Linked DNA regions of Homo sapiens: all the other regions are linked to region 2. Evidence: promoter capture Hi-C in 16 types of primary human blood cells and fetal thymus (Javierre and others, 2016). All regions are on one chromosome and are shown on one strand. Each heading gives the region's core, a stretch centred on a gene start or on the middle of the fragment in contact. The rest is flanking DNA. Distances are from core to core; before and after follow the strand shown. Region 1 holds the start of TRR-TCG4-1 (tRNA-Arg (anticodon TCG) 4-1). Region 2 holds the start of BTN1A1 (butyrophilin subfamily 1 member A1). Region 3 has its middle 4.9 kb from the start of BTN3A2.

What was found. The method cuts DNA at HindIII sites, captures the fragments that hold promoters and counts their contacts. A CHiCAGO score of 5 or more calls a contact.
Region 1: a contact is called between a fragment that was not itself captured here and the fragment with the promoter of BTN1A1 in region 2, in 4 of 17 cell types (non-activated CD4 T cells, megakaryocytes, M0 macrophages and 1 more). The highest score is 6.1, in non-activated CD4 T cells.
Region 3: a fragment that was not itself captured here is called in contact with the fragment with the promoter of BTN1A1 in region 2 in 13 of 17 cell types (megakaryocytes, erythroblasts, activated CD4 T cells and 10 more); the score reaches 14.9 in megakaryocytes.

The regions. Positions count from the first base shown.
Region 1 is chr6:26,297,790-26,302,683 of GRCh38, reverse strand. It overlaps TRR-TCG4-1 (tRNA-Arg (anticodon TCG) 4-1), which reads right to left and starts at 3,007; the gene lies at 2,935-3,007. It overlaps LOC124901287 (a long non-coding RNA gene), which reads right to left. Exons shown (of 2, transcript XR_007059520.1): 2 at 3,720-4,894. The HindIII fragment of the contact is 1,637 bases long and covers 1,707-3,343 here.
Region 2 is chr6:26,498,523-26,503,533 of GRCh38, reverse strand. BTN1A1 (butyrophilin subfamily 1 member A1) reads right to left here and starts at 3,231. Exons shown (of 8, transcript NM_001732.3): 1 at 3,176-3,231; 2 at 2,169-2,304; 3 at 1,597-1,944. The coding sequence starts at 2,247. The region is part of intron 1 of LOC107986583 (a long non-coding RNA gene); the gene reads left to right. RefSeq lists an enhancer at 1,813-1,942. The HindIII fragment of the contact is 5,298 bases long and covers 628-5,011 here.
Region 3 is chr6:26,358,074-26,362,430 of GRCh38, reverse strand. No RefSeq gene overlaps it. Among named protein-coding and RNA genes, the nearest start is that of BTN3A2, 4.9 kb to the left of the region's middle. RefSeq lists an enhancer at 1,356-1,405. The HindIII fragment of the contact is 3,727 bases long and covers 118-3,844 here.

The sequences.
Region 1 (4,894 bases), core at 1,276-3,775, 200 kb after region 2:
GTGAGACCCTATGTCTTAAAAATATATAATATAATCTTTATGTTTTTGAACTGTAGTGGAGGCAAAATTTTACCTCTATTCTTACTACAATTTCTCCAGCTGAACCTGAGAATTAAATTGATGTAAGGCAGATTAATACAAAAAGACCATACAAATTCATTTAATAGTTTTCTGTGGCACAAGAGGCTTCATTGGAAAATGAAGATACTACAGTGCAGTGAGAGTGGAACACTTACATGCTGAATTAGACAGAAAGTGGTAAACTATGTAAATGTAACAAGGCAAAGGGGCTTGGGCTTGGGTAGTTACTTGGGTAGAGAAGTGGCTGAGAGGATAAATTCTCATTTAACAAGATTTGTTTACACAGATTTCCCTCAGCCTCAGTTACCTTAGAAACTAGAATGAATGATACTGTCATTCTAGTTTAGGGAGGACTTATTTCACAGAGGAATTTAATATTCTGCTTTTAAGAAACAGAATGAGAGTCAGAGTGATATTCTTGCATCTGCTATTTTTCAAGTGCCTTTAACTCAAAATAGTCACTATGCCAGAGGGGCATAGTTTTTAACTCCTTCAGAATATATCTCTTCTAATATAAAGTATAATTTACTTATATAATCTACTTATTCATTTTGTGTTTTCTGTGTTGTCTCCTCCTCTCTTCCTTCAACTCCAAACCTCTTGAGGACATGGGTTTTTGTGTACTTTTGTTACTGTGTTCCTAGATTGCTAGATCCTATATTCTAGAATCCCAGTACCTAGCACAGTGGCTGGGGAGAGAAGCAGGCACAGGGTAGGTGCTCCATAAACATTTACAGTAGTCCCCTTTCTATCTGAGGTTTCACTTTGTGTGGTTTCAGTTACCCATAGTCAACTGAGGTCTGAAAATAGGTGAGTAATGTACAATAAAGTATTTTGAGAGACAGAGAGATCACATTCATATAACTTTTATTACTGTATGTAGATTGTTATAATTGTTTTATTAGTTATTGTTGTTAATCTCTTAAAATGCCTAATTTATAAATTAAACTTTATCATATGTGTGTATGTATAGGAAAAAACATGGTGTATATAGAGTTCAGCACTATCCAAGGTTTCAGGCATCCACTGGGGTCTTGGAACATAACTCCTGTAAATAAGGGGGGCTACTCTATTAAATTCATGAATCTCTTAATCCCCTGTGCAACTGGACCCAACTCCCAGTGTTTGTGATACACATCTAGAAATCTTTCTTCTTGATTTATTTTCTTCCAGTTGCTTTTTTTTAATCCAGCTCCAAAAGATGTTTTTCATGTTATTTATTTATTTATTTTCTGAATCCCACTCTCAAAGCAGAAAGGCTTACACATTCATCAAAGGGTGCATATATTTTTATTTGGTGGATTTGGGACAAGTTCCTAAATCACGGTGACCATTTAAGACTCAGGATGTCCACAGATTTCCCTATCTTTTTCAGTTTTCTCCCTTTTGGCACTTCCCAGTCTGGAAAGTCTCTCTCCTCCTTTTGGCATTCTTTGCTATCAGTGCAGTAGAGAAAGAAAGAAAAAGAAGAGAGAAAGGGTTATGACAGGCAAATTTTTATATTCTTGCATCAGAATTTCCACTTTCATTAAATGCTTGAGGGAGGCTGTGGGGCCCCTGGAAAAAGTCTTGTTCATCCTCTGGTACACAGGGTTACATACTGATCAGAGAGAGAGGAGGAAGCTTTTTCCTGTTCTTAGAATCAAGAAAAAAGGTGGGCTATGTAATTCTCAAGTATCACTGTATTCATTTTAAAAGGTTACTCTTCTTTTGAGGTTATATCCTTTTTCTAGTTTATAAAAGGATGCTCAGTGCAAATGGTGGGTTTTGCCATTAACAAGGCAGAACATGGTTTTGCATGACATTAGGACATTGACACTTTCTAATCCAATAAATTTCAAAGTCTGGAAACCAATGCTCAATCCCCACATTTTTTATACAACTTGGAATCTACAGATGACTAGAGGAAACCAGAATCAAACAGAGCTATGGAAGAAGCTGGGGACAGGGAGAGGTAATTATTACTAATTTTAATATTCTTTGCTTTGATCTAGAAACACACTTATGGACTCCATGTGATTTGAATCAATGATCTCATCTGGATGGAGTCAAATGTCTTATGTTTCATCATGATGTCAGCAATTGGAAATTACTTTTCCTTAATCCTAAATTATTATTAAATTCAGGCACACAAAATGTTATTTAGGAATACAAAATGTTTTTTATATATTTTGCACAGCTGTGTTCCCTGTCTTTTCCTGTTTGCACACACACACTGTAACCAGTTGGACTATTTTAATTACCTTTATATTTTTGCTTTGCAATATAAAATTCAATATTAGGTATTCTCATCCTTTTGATGGCAACACACCCACAACAAAAAAGTTAAAATGGAGAGTAAGAACTAGTAACATAGGCTTCAGCAGCTGCCAAAACTCCTTGGTACACGCGGATGTAGACTAAAAAAGAAATGTGAAGAGTTTTTGGCCTAGTGCTAAATCAGAAGAAGCAACAGGTTTCCTACTGTGCTAGCCACTGGGGCCTGGCATTAGTCTGAGACGCTACAGTTTGAGACAGCTTGGCTTATAGATCTGAATTTCTTTTTTTCAAGGAATTGAATCCTTGAATTGAATCTAAGCCTACAAAACCGAAACGCAGGTGCTTAAAATCCAAACTTGGGGAGAACCTGACAGCTCCAAAGTAGTAGATGGCTGTATTTCAGTTTTGACTTTCCAGTCTTTCTTCACTCTGTCACTTGTTCTCCTAAGGCCTTTGAGAATGTCTCCTTCTTCCCTTTAAAGGAGAGGAGATGGAAGAAAAAAAGGATTCAGAAAACCCAGAGAGTGTATGATTTATTTTTTTCTTGGAATGAAATGGGTAATAAAATTTTCATGCCCGAAAACGAACCCCACTTAACCACGAAGGGATTCGAACCCTCAATCTTCTGATCCGAAGTCAGACGCCTTATCCATTAGGCCACGTGGTCCCCCGCAGTTCCGTTGTTGCTGCAATACTTAGAAAATAAAACGAGCTTCCCCCCACCCGCCCCCTCCAACCCCCCGTGTTGGCATCTACAGCGCCCGTGTTTTCGCCAATGAGAAAATGAAAACTTTAGATTAGGTGGGATATTTGGGGCCACAGAATCGGGATTTATAAACGGTTGGTATCGACAATTATTTTAGTCTTGTGGTAATATAACTACTCCTTGGAGAGAAAAGTCGTTTGTTCTGACTCCCAAGGCAGAAGAAGCGGAGTTTATGGCATCTAAAAGATGCTAAAATTCTGCATATTGTCTGCATCGAAGGATATGTTAAAATAAGCTTACTCAAGGTTTCTTCCCTATGATGCTCATCCACATTCACCATTTACAGACTAGGTTCTTGCAGGGTCTGCCCAGATAGTTGTTAAGAAAACTGTACCTGGAAGGCAGTTTTACCACAAGGCAACATCTGTACCGTGGTCTTTCTCGCCATCCTGCATGGATATCTGCAGACCCCGGAGACAATTACCCCCTCTCCATGCTGTTCTGGTACTTTCTCTGATTGTGATAATGTGATATCAGAGCACTTTTCGTGGTATGGTTCTGTTTAGAAAGGAAAGAAAATACTTTCCTTGGGGTTTCTCAGGAGTGCCGAGCGGACTAGAGCCATTACCAGTTTTTGAGGTTCCCATATATTAAGAAGTGAAGGAACACGAAATAGAAATGCAAAAATTTTTATTATTAACAATTTTTACATTTAATAGATGAATCAACACGAAAATGTAATGCATTAGCATCATACTATGGAGAAGATATTTATAGAATTTATAATGTTCCGTAGCGCTCTTGGCCCCATCATGGCATATAAAGTTCTATTTTGTGTGGCTTCTTTCAAGCCTGTCAGTGAATCTCTGTGAAGTCAAGTACTTCATTTGAAGATAATGTCAACAGCCTACATATAAGACATTTCCTTAATTTTCCTAAACCCCAGATACTGGGAATAATGGCTCTCCTGGCTCATTTGTGATAAGTCTTGGTTTCTCTTGGTTAGCAAATATAGCGGCTTCTGGTGCATAGAAATTGGGCCTTTTACATAGTCTTTCTTTCCCTATCCATAGAATAACATCTGACAAATAGTAGGAGCTCAATAAAAATATGCCGAATTTCTCATTTATTTTCGAATTCTGCAATCATCTTCAATGTGAGAATTATTATTATTATTATTATTATTATTATTATTATTTTTGAGACAGAGTCTCACTCTGTGGCCTAGGCTGGAGTGCAGTGGCACCATCTCAGCTCACCGAAACCTCTGCCTTCCAGGTTCAAGCGATTCTCCTGCCTCAGCCTCCCAAGTAGCTGGGATTACAGGCGCCCACCACCAATGCCTGGCTAATTTTTGTATTTTTAGTAGAGACGGGGTTTCACTATGTTGGCCAGGTTGGTCTCGAACTCCTGACCTGAGCTGATCCTCCCACCTTGACCTCTCAAAGTACTGGGATTACAGGCGTGAGCCACCACGCCCGGCCAATGTGATAATTATTTAACAATATTCTTCTATTCTGCAAAAATCTTTGTTGCTCTCTCTTTCTCCTTCCTGGAGAAGATTGATTGAAAGGCTATTATAATATCTGGATGACCCATAAACCATTATGGGTAGTGTTTGTAGAAGTATCAAGGAGTGGTTGAATTCTGGGTATGTTTTAAAGGGTTTGTGATTAAATTGGTGTGAAATAAATAGAAAAGTCATATATATCTCCAGTTTCTTTTGCTGTAACAACACAGTTTGCATTTACTGAGACAGGAATGACTTCAGAAAGAGCATTTTGAGAGTGGAGTGTGTATGTGTGTGGTGGGGATCTAGAATCTGTTTCAGCATTTACTTCAAGTTGT
Region 2 (5,011 bases), core at 1,982-4,481:
TTTTAGAATTGGCGAGGTCATTTCTCATATATTGTCTAATTTTATTTTATTCTTTTTTTTTTTGTTAGAGACGAGTCTCACTCTGTTGCCCAGGCTGGAGTGCAGTAGTGCAGTCTCAGCTCACTGCAACCTCTGCCTCCCAGGTTCAAGCGATTTTCCTTGAGTAGCTGGGATTACAGGTATGACCCAGCTAATTTCTTTTTGTATTTTTAGTAGAGATGGGGTTTTGCCATGTTGGCCAGGCTGGTCTTGAATATCCTGATCAAAAGTGAGTCACCCGCCTTGGCCTCCCAAAATGCTGGGATTACAGGCGTGAGACACCACATCCCACTTTTTTTTTTTCTTTTTTTGACAGCACACTCTATTGTCCAGGCTGGAGTGCAGTGGCAACCATCAGCTTACTGTAACCTTGAATTTCTTGGCTCAAGAGATCCTCCTGCCTCTGCTTCCCAAAGCGCTGAGATTATAGGAGTTGGCCACTGGTCCCAGACTATTTTATTCTTGAAAAATAATCTTAGATAAAAACATCCTCAGTTTTACAGTAAAAATCAGAAAGAGATTTGCTTGATGTCATTCACTAGGAATTGAGAAAGTCAGACCTCAATGCGTACTTTCCTCCTCAAAGCTTATTATTTTCTTTATTGTTTCCCTTTGAATTCTGGCTTGAAGCAAAAAAGGGAACAAGAACAGAATCTTTTCTATATGAATCAGGAATGTGACAAACCGCCATGCTCTCTAATCTTAGGATGTCAGTCTTTAGAAACTAATCCATAAGCCAGCCTTAAAGTGTGTGGTATGCTCACCACAGCCATAAGATGTGTAATGGTGAGAAATACAATTTAAATGTACAATTCAGGGACTCGATGAAGTAAATTATGGTGTACTTGTATAAAAGAATGTTATATAACTCTTATATGTATTTAATTATTTCATGAAGAAATGCTTACCCTATTATTGAAAAAGGGCTGGAGATAATTGAAATAAAGTTCTACAATAAAGACATTGCACTGTTCTCTCCATGTTCAACTCAAAACCCTTTCTCACTGATTTCCTACTGTAGGACCTTCAGTACCTTCTAGCTGTGGAGTCCTAATCAGGGGAAAACAAAGAGATAAGGCAGATAAGCTGCAAGTCTGCCTTTCTTCATGGTCCAGTACACAGCCCTCCTGTGCAAATAACTCACAGTCATCCTTCCTGTGTCCAACTATCACCAAACACCTGCAAGTTAGCTCACTGCAACCTTTGCCTTATAGATACTGCACAAAGCCATCTTCAACAGACAGCATAAAAACTATTCTATAAATTATCCAGCAAGCCTTTGTTTCCTGGCAGTCAGCTTCTCTTTTGCTGATCCTGCCTTTTGCCTCCTCGAAAAGTATTTTCATACTTTTAAAAGTAAATCTGCCTTTCTTTACAACTGTCTTGGTAAATTCTTTTACCCCCCCTCGCCTCCCGCCCAGATAGTCGTCCCTCCCCGGCGACATCAACCTAAAAGAGATTTTGAGAATGAATCTGATGGTTTCCAAAGTAACTGATCCATACGAAAGTGTATACAGCAGGGGAGTCGTCGGAGAAAGTCAAAACCCGTCTACTCACCAGCCACCTTCAGATGCACCAGGGCTTCTTCGTAGCTTCCATCCTCCCTGAAAAAGCACGTGTACTCCCCGTCGTCAGAGACTCTGACGCCACGGATCCTCAAGGCCACGCGCCCCTTGGCGATGCCGTCCTGGACCAGCGTCGCCCGCCCGCGGTACTCGGGCATCTGCTCGGCTTCCTGCTCGCGCCCGTCCCTATGCACCAGCACGGCCGGCGAAACCTTCTTTCGGAACCAGCGTAGCTCCAAGTGCTCGGCGCTCGCGTTCGGAGACAGGCGACAGGGCAGCTCGGCGTCCTCACCCACAACGGCCAGGATGGGCTCCGGGGGTCCAATCACGTCAAAGGGAGCTGCCGAAAAACGAGCGGGATCAGACGGGATGTGGAGATGGGAACTACGGACAGACACCGACCAGATTCCCGCCAAAGCGCAGTGCCCCGCGCTCTCTTACTCCTTTGACAGCTGAGTTTGTCTGGATCCAGTGGAGGTCTCCAGGGAGAGCCAAGTGGGATTGTTTATTTTACATTTATTGATATATTTCAACTATGCAGCCCAGAGAGAGAGAGAGACTTACCTGAATCCAGTTTGGGCAGCTGGAGGAGAATGAGGGTGAGCAGACATCTGGGGAGACCGGAGCTTGGGAAAACTGCCATCTCCCACCCTTCTGGAGCAGCAAGATAACTGATGTGAGTCCCCTCAGGAGCTTCAGCCTAGGAGATGAATGGACAGGAGACAACTACCGGCTCTGTCAACCCTCCGCTTTCCAAAGTCCTCTCTACAGTTCTTTCCAGCTGCAAGTGTTCTGGTCATTTGCCCCTGAAACCTCCTCTCAGCCTCCATCCCCAGTATGGATTTTTAGTTTACACTGTGGTTATCACCTTCCCACCCACTACTCTAACTCTAAAACTTAGGAGAAGGGAACTGTGAGGCATAACACTCATTAGTTGGTTGCATATCGATGAACAAATCTTGGAATCACTGCACTAAAAAAAAAGTCTCCTTTTTATTTATTTATTTATTTATTTTTGAGACAGTCTTGCTCTGTTGCCCAGCTTGGAGTGCAGTGGCATGATCTCGGCTCAATGCAACCTCAGCCTCCTGGGTTCAAGCGATTGTTCTGCCTCAGCCTCCGGAGTAGCTGGGACTACAGGCGCGCACCACCATGCCCCGCTATTTTTTGTATTTTCAGTAGAGACGGAGTTTCACCACGTTGGCCAGGCTGGCCTCGAACTCCTGACCTCGTGATCCACCCGCCTTGGCCTCCCAAAGTGCTGGGATTACAGGCGTGAGCCACCGTGCCTGGCCAAAGTCTTTTTTCAAATACAAGAATTTGGTATTTGCTTTTGGCAATGATAATAAAGATAAGGGTATAAAGGCAGAAATGGAGTCCAAGGAAATGAATTGGAGAAGAGAGAAAAGATGGGAGGAGATGGAGCAAGAAGCAGGAGCTGAAGCAAGCAAAAGGGCTTGAAGAGTAGAGGGCCTAGGACCAAGGAGAAAGGAGCTGGAGGGAGAGAAGTATGCTATGCCCCTCTGGCTGCTCACTCCCTCAGGGAGCTGAGAGTAACCACACATACTGACCTGGGTGATCTTGGAGAAAAAGGCACAAGAGGCCACTGCTACCAAGTGAGAAAGCTGGCTGTGGCCCCCGGGGCAAAAGTTAAAAGCCAGCAGGAAAAGGAAGCGGGAGGTGCTCTCAGGAAAGCCTGCCTCCAGGTGGCCTGGTATATTCACTCTGAGGAAAAAAAAAAGGGAGATGAAAAGTTTTTCAGAGAGATGGAAAACTGGATTTGTGGTCTTCAGCTCAGAAATCAAGATATGCATTGATGAGCTGGACCAAATGAAAGGCAGAAAAGAGAAAAAGAGAAGAGAGGCAAGGAAACACACAAATGAGATGTGATGGCTTCAGCCAGTTATTTCCTCTTTCCAAGCCTCAGTTCTTTGATCTCTAAAATGGTAATAATATTGATCATACCTTTCTTGAAGAGGTGTTGGGAGGATTAAGTGAGATTAAGCAGGTAAAGTGCTTAGCACATAGTAGGAACTCAGCGGAGGATAAATTGTTATTCTATTATTATTTCTGCGGGTTGAAAAATGAAAGCCCAGAGGCCAAGGTAGCAGTAGCCTCTGTCTATAGCCATCTTCGTTATTGGAGCGTCCGTCCACCTTAGGTGCTGTGTCTGTTGGAACAACTCCATTAAAGGCCAGTCTTAAGGGTAGGCTGTGAATTCTGTTTACAGGGCCCAAAAGTTGCCTCCCTGACAATTATTTCTTTTGAAGCAACTCATCATGAGGCCTACAATTCCTTAATTTATACTAAACCTACCTCTCATTGTTATGAAAAAATTTAAAAATACAGAAAAATATTTTTATAAAATGGAGGTCACACTTAATCTACTAACTAATGATAGCCTCAATTCACATTTTGGCATAGTCCTTCCAAGATTTATTTTATGCTTATGTATATCATAAAAGCAATCAATTAGACTTTTTGTGTAACTCAAAATATTGTTAATAGTTGTATAATTGCCATGATTGTGGGACATTTGGGATTTTTTTCCTATTGTAAATAATACACTTTATATATAAGTCTTTATTTGCAAATTGGATAATGTCCTGATAAACTGTTTAATAAATTTCCAGAAATAGAGTCATCAGATCAAATGGTATAAGCATATTTCTTTTCTTTTCTTTTTTTTTTTGAGACGGAATCTCACTCTGTCGCCTAGGCTGGAGTGCAGTGGCGTAATCTTGGCTCACTGCAACCTCCGCCTCCAGGGTTCAAAGGATTTTCCTCTTGCCTCAGCCTCCTGAGTAGCTGAGATTACAGGCACGTGCCACCATGCCCAACTAATTTTTGTATTTTAGTGGAGACAGGGTTTCACCATGTTGGCCAGGCTGGTCTCGAACTCCTGAGCTTCAATGATCTGCTTGCCTTGGTCTCCCAAAGTGCTGGGATTACAGGTGTGAGCCACCATGCCCGACCTAGTATCAGCATATTTCTACAGTCCCTTCCTGAAATGTTGAATCCATCACACCCTCAATGGAGGTGCCCTCACCTAATCCCTGCTAGCACTGAGAAGTTATTATTTCACATCCTTACTATTGGGATGGGTCAAGTTAATTAAATTATTATTTATTGTGCCTTTATATGTTAGCGAGGCTGGAGTTTTTTATGTGTTAATTAGACATTTAATACATTCTAGAAATGAGCTGTTCAGGCCAGTTGCCCATTGTTTTCAAGACTGGTCCTGGTGCTAGTTCTTAGCAATCTGTGTGAATTTTAATAACTTAAAAATATCAATCCTGTATTATATTTGTAACAAACATTCTTCCCAGTTTTGTTATTTATCTTTGAGTTGGAATTGTGATTAAGACAAAAGACAGTTGCTCCATTTCACCCACCAGACTGCCAAG
Region 3 (4,357 bases), core at 732-3,231, 140 kb after region 2:
ATAAATCACGAATGCATTAGGTAAGTGAAACACACAGTGGCAACAAACATGAATATAAAGAAGACAAAGAGAATAACTTGTGTTTCCAGCCCTGACCCGTTGCCTGGACTGCAAGCTTATTATTGACCTGCCTACTCTACATCTCCACGGGAATCTCTAGTAAGCTCCTCAAACCCAACATATTCAAAACTGACCTTTGGATTCTGTGCTGGCTCCTCCTCTGGCCTCCACAAGCGGTTTCTCCCTCATTTTCCCCATCTCAGTAAGTGGCAACTCCATCTGTACCGTTTCTTAGGACCAAAACCTTGTGGTCACCCTTGATGCCCTCCTTTTTCACACCCCACCTGTAAGTTTATCAGCAAAGCCTTTTTATTCTATCTTGAAAATAAATCCAGCATCATAACATTTTCATGGCTCCTCCCTGGTACAAGTCATCTGCATCTTTCCCCTGGATCACTGCAGTAGCTCCCAGCTGGGTCTTCAGGCCTCCATCCACCACCCCTACCCACAGCCCATCTTGGTCTAGCATGTGAAGTAACTTCTTAAAACATAAGTCAGTCCAGTCCTTTTTCTGCTCTAACCTTCCAGTGGCTCCCCTCTCAGAGGTAAAGCCCAGGTCAGCATGATGACTTTCAAGGCCATACATGATCTGGCCCTCAACCCCCTCTGGCCTTGTCACCTCCTCTTCTCCTGATCACCCTGTGTGCTCTGCGCACCCCAGCCTCATTGCTTTTCTTCACACAAACCACAGTGCTTCTGCCTCTGTGCTCTGGCACTGCTGTTCTCTCAACTCGGAATGCTTTTCTCCCAAGTATTCTGTGCCTCGCTCCCCTTGCTCATAACCACCCTATTTTAAACTGTAACTTCCAACCGGGAACGAGGGCTTACAGGTGTAATCACAGGACCTTGAAAGATCGAGGGAGGAGAATTGCATGAGGCCAGGAGTTCAAGAACCTGGGCAGTATGCATAGCAAGATCTCTGTCTTTCAAAAAAAAAAAAAATTAGGCTGCAGTGAGCTATGATCACTCCAATGTACTCTAGCCTGAACAACAGAGCAAGACCCCTTCAAAAAGAAATGCAAGTTCTGCTATTCCAGGTTTATTTCTCTCCTGAGCACTTATCATCATCCAGCACACCATATATATTACTAATTATTTCATTTCCTGTCTGCCTCCTACCACAAGTTATGTTGTTTTTGAATGAGAACTTTCTGTTTTGTTCACTTCTGTGACTCCACCACCTAGAATAGTGACTGGCACATAGTTAGCGTTCATGGATCCTTGTCAAATGAATGAATTAATGAATTGACCAAATAGAGAAGCCTGAGGGAAGCTGGGGTGGGGGCTCCCCGATGTGGGTGCAGAATTAGCCTGAGACAGGAGAAAGAACACCTGCTTGTTGAAATCAGAGGAAACAGATCATGAGGGACAGGTATAGGTGGTGGAGCAGGAAGTTTGGGACCTCCCTTTTCTATTTTCTCTCTGAGGTGGTAGACTGTGGCACCATCTGAGATGTGGGGAAAGGATGTGGTGATGAGGATAACGGCTAACGGTCACTATCACAGATACGCGCTGTGTTCGCACCAGGTGCTCTCCACACCGTATCTCATTCCTAAACATCTGCTAAAGAAGTAGATGTCATTAATTCTATTTCTAGGTGAGAAAAATAGAGTTGCAGAAAGGTCAAGGATCCTGTCCTGGTTTGTCTGAGTGAGTAGAATAGGGGTCACCCAGGTGTGTTGACCAGGGAGAGGAAATGGGTGCAGAGGCATGAAACTGCATGATATGTTTGGGACACTGCAGGTGTTGTGGTCAGGCTGAGGAGCAGCACATTGCCAGGATGTCCAAAGGTAGAGCAGAAGTAGGTGGCCTGGACCACTGAGTGCCTGCAATGCAGATAAAAAGTCCAAGGAGGCCGGGCGCGGTGGCCCACGCCTGCAATCCGAGCACTTTGGGAGGCCAAGGTGGGCGGATCACAAGGTCAGGAGTTCGAGACCAGCCTGGCCAATATGGTGAAACCCCGTCTCTACTAAAAATACAAAAATTAGCCAGGTGTGGTGGTGGGTGCCTGTAGCTCCAGCTACTCGGGAGGCTGAGGCAGGAGAATTGCTTGAACCCAGGAGGGAGAGGTTGCAGTGAGCTGAGGTCGCACCACTGCACTCCAGCCTGGGCTACAGAGTGAGCGAGACTCCGTTTCGAAAAAAAAAAAAGAAAAAGAAAAAGAAAAAGAAAAAAAAAAGTCCAAGAAAGCTGGACTTCATCTTTCAGGCCAGAGTTTCTTCAGCAGAGTTATGTAAAAAACTTGTTTAGACAAAAACTAATTTTTATAATACATCTGAAAATATGTCTTCTAACTACTGAAAGAGATGGGAACTAGTTAAAAAATGCAGCATTAAAAGTTAAAATTTGTTATTAGGGAAGTCATTGGTCACTGATATGATAAACAGTAGTTTCCTTGGAAACTGGAACCACTCCACAACAGTTGATTATAAAGATGTGAACCAGATGATATAGAGTCTGCTTAGGTTACAATTTTTAGATTTAAATTGGCATTAAAATAATTTTTTAAAATTTTAACATTTCTGTCCAGGCGTGGTGGCTCATTTCTGTAATCCCAGCACTTCGAGAGGCCGAGGCAGGCGGATCACTTGAGGTCAAGAGTTCGAGGCCAGCCTGGCCAACATGGTGAAACCCCATTTCTACCAAAAAATACAAAAATTAACTGGCCGTGGGGGCACATGCCTGTAGTCCCAGCTACTCGGGAGGCTGAGGTGGGAGAATCGCTTTAACCCCGTAGGCAGAGGCTGCAGTGAGCTGAGATCATGCCACTACACTCTAGCCTAGGTGACAGGGTGAGACCTTGTCTCAAAAAAGAAAAAAGAAAAGAAAAGGATGATTGTTGCTCTTGGTTGAAGGGAAGCAGGAGCCCAAGGGGTTAAGTGGTTTGCTGGTGGCTGCTGTTGAGAGAAGGGCCATGGTAAACTGAATCCCAGAGGTCTGCAATAAAAGAAGAAAGAGGCTGGGCGTGGTGGCTCATGCCTGTAATCCCAGCACTTTGGGAGGCCAAGGCGGGTGGATCACGAGGTCAGGAGTTCGAGACCAGCCTGACCCATGTGGTGAAACCCCGTCTCTACTAAATATACTAAAATTAGCTGGGTGTGGTGGTACATGTCTGTAGTCCCAGCTACTTGGGAGGCTGAGGCAGGAGAATTGCTTGAACCTGGGAGGCGGAGGTTGCAGTGAGCCTGGGTGTACTCCAGCCTGGGTGACAGAGTGAGACTCTATCTCAAAATAATAATAATAATAAATTAATTAATTAATTAAAAAATAAGAATGAGCCTCCTCTATTGGGAAAGGTCATCCTCTTTGAGCACACAGTTTTGAGAGGGAGAAACTTCCTAATGCTCAGCAGCAAATTTTTTCTATTGCTTAGCCCCAGGCCCCCTCACAATGTGAGGTTTCGTCACATTGGCCAGGCTGGTCTTGAACTCCTGACATCAAGTGATCCGCCCACCTTGGGCTCCCAAAGTGCTAGGATTACAAGCATAAGCCACCACGCCCAGCCGGATCATTTAAGGATATATGAGTAGCTGCACTCACCCCCTTGTTAGAACCTCCAAAAAAGTTCCTTATTTTTCTCATTTTCCAGAATAAAAACAAATTACTTTTAAAATCAGAAAACTCATAAACAGATTACTATTTTAAGGATTAAATCGTCATCCCAGGACAAAACCTGGGTAGCCATAGGCAAATCACTTCCTCTCTGAATATCAATGGTTTCATTTATAAATGAGGTGGTTAGACCACAGTGATTTCTACAGTTCTCGGATGTGCTTAGAAAGCTTTTTTTTTTTTTTTTTTTTTTTTTTTTTAATAGAGACAGAGTCTCACTATGTTGCCTAGGCTGGTCTCGAGGTCCTGGGCTCAAGTGATCCTCCTGCCTAGGCCTCCCAAAGTGCTGGGATTACAGGTGTGAGCCACTGCATTTGGCCTAGAAAGCTTTTTGTTGTTATTAAATCATATGTGCTCTATAATATAGAACATATGATACCACACTTTGGTGACCTATCGATTTCTTCTCACATGTTGTAGTTGCCTTAGAATGTGGAGGCAGCTGGAAGGCACGATGAACAGCAATAGCAGATCACTGGCCTCTGACAACTGTCATTCAGTTGAGAGATGTGGATTAAATATGCCCCCAATTATTATCTGTGTAGTTGTGAGCACATAAGTCAATAGACATAGCGAGTGCTTCCCATGGTTCTATTACTTTATTCCCAAGATTCACACGTGACTATGGCCAGCAGCCTCTGGATATGTTAAGATGAAGGAGATATCAACAAAGCATCATGAAAAC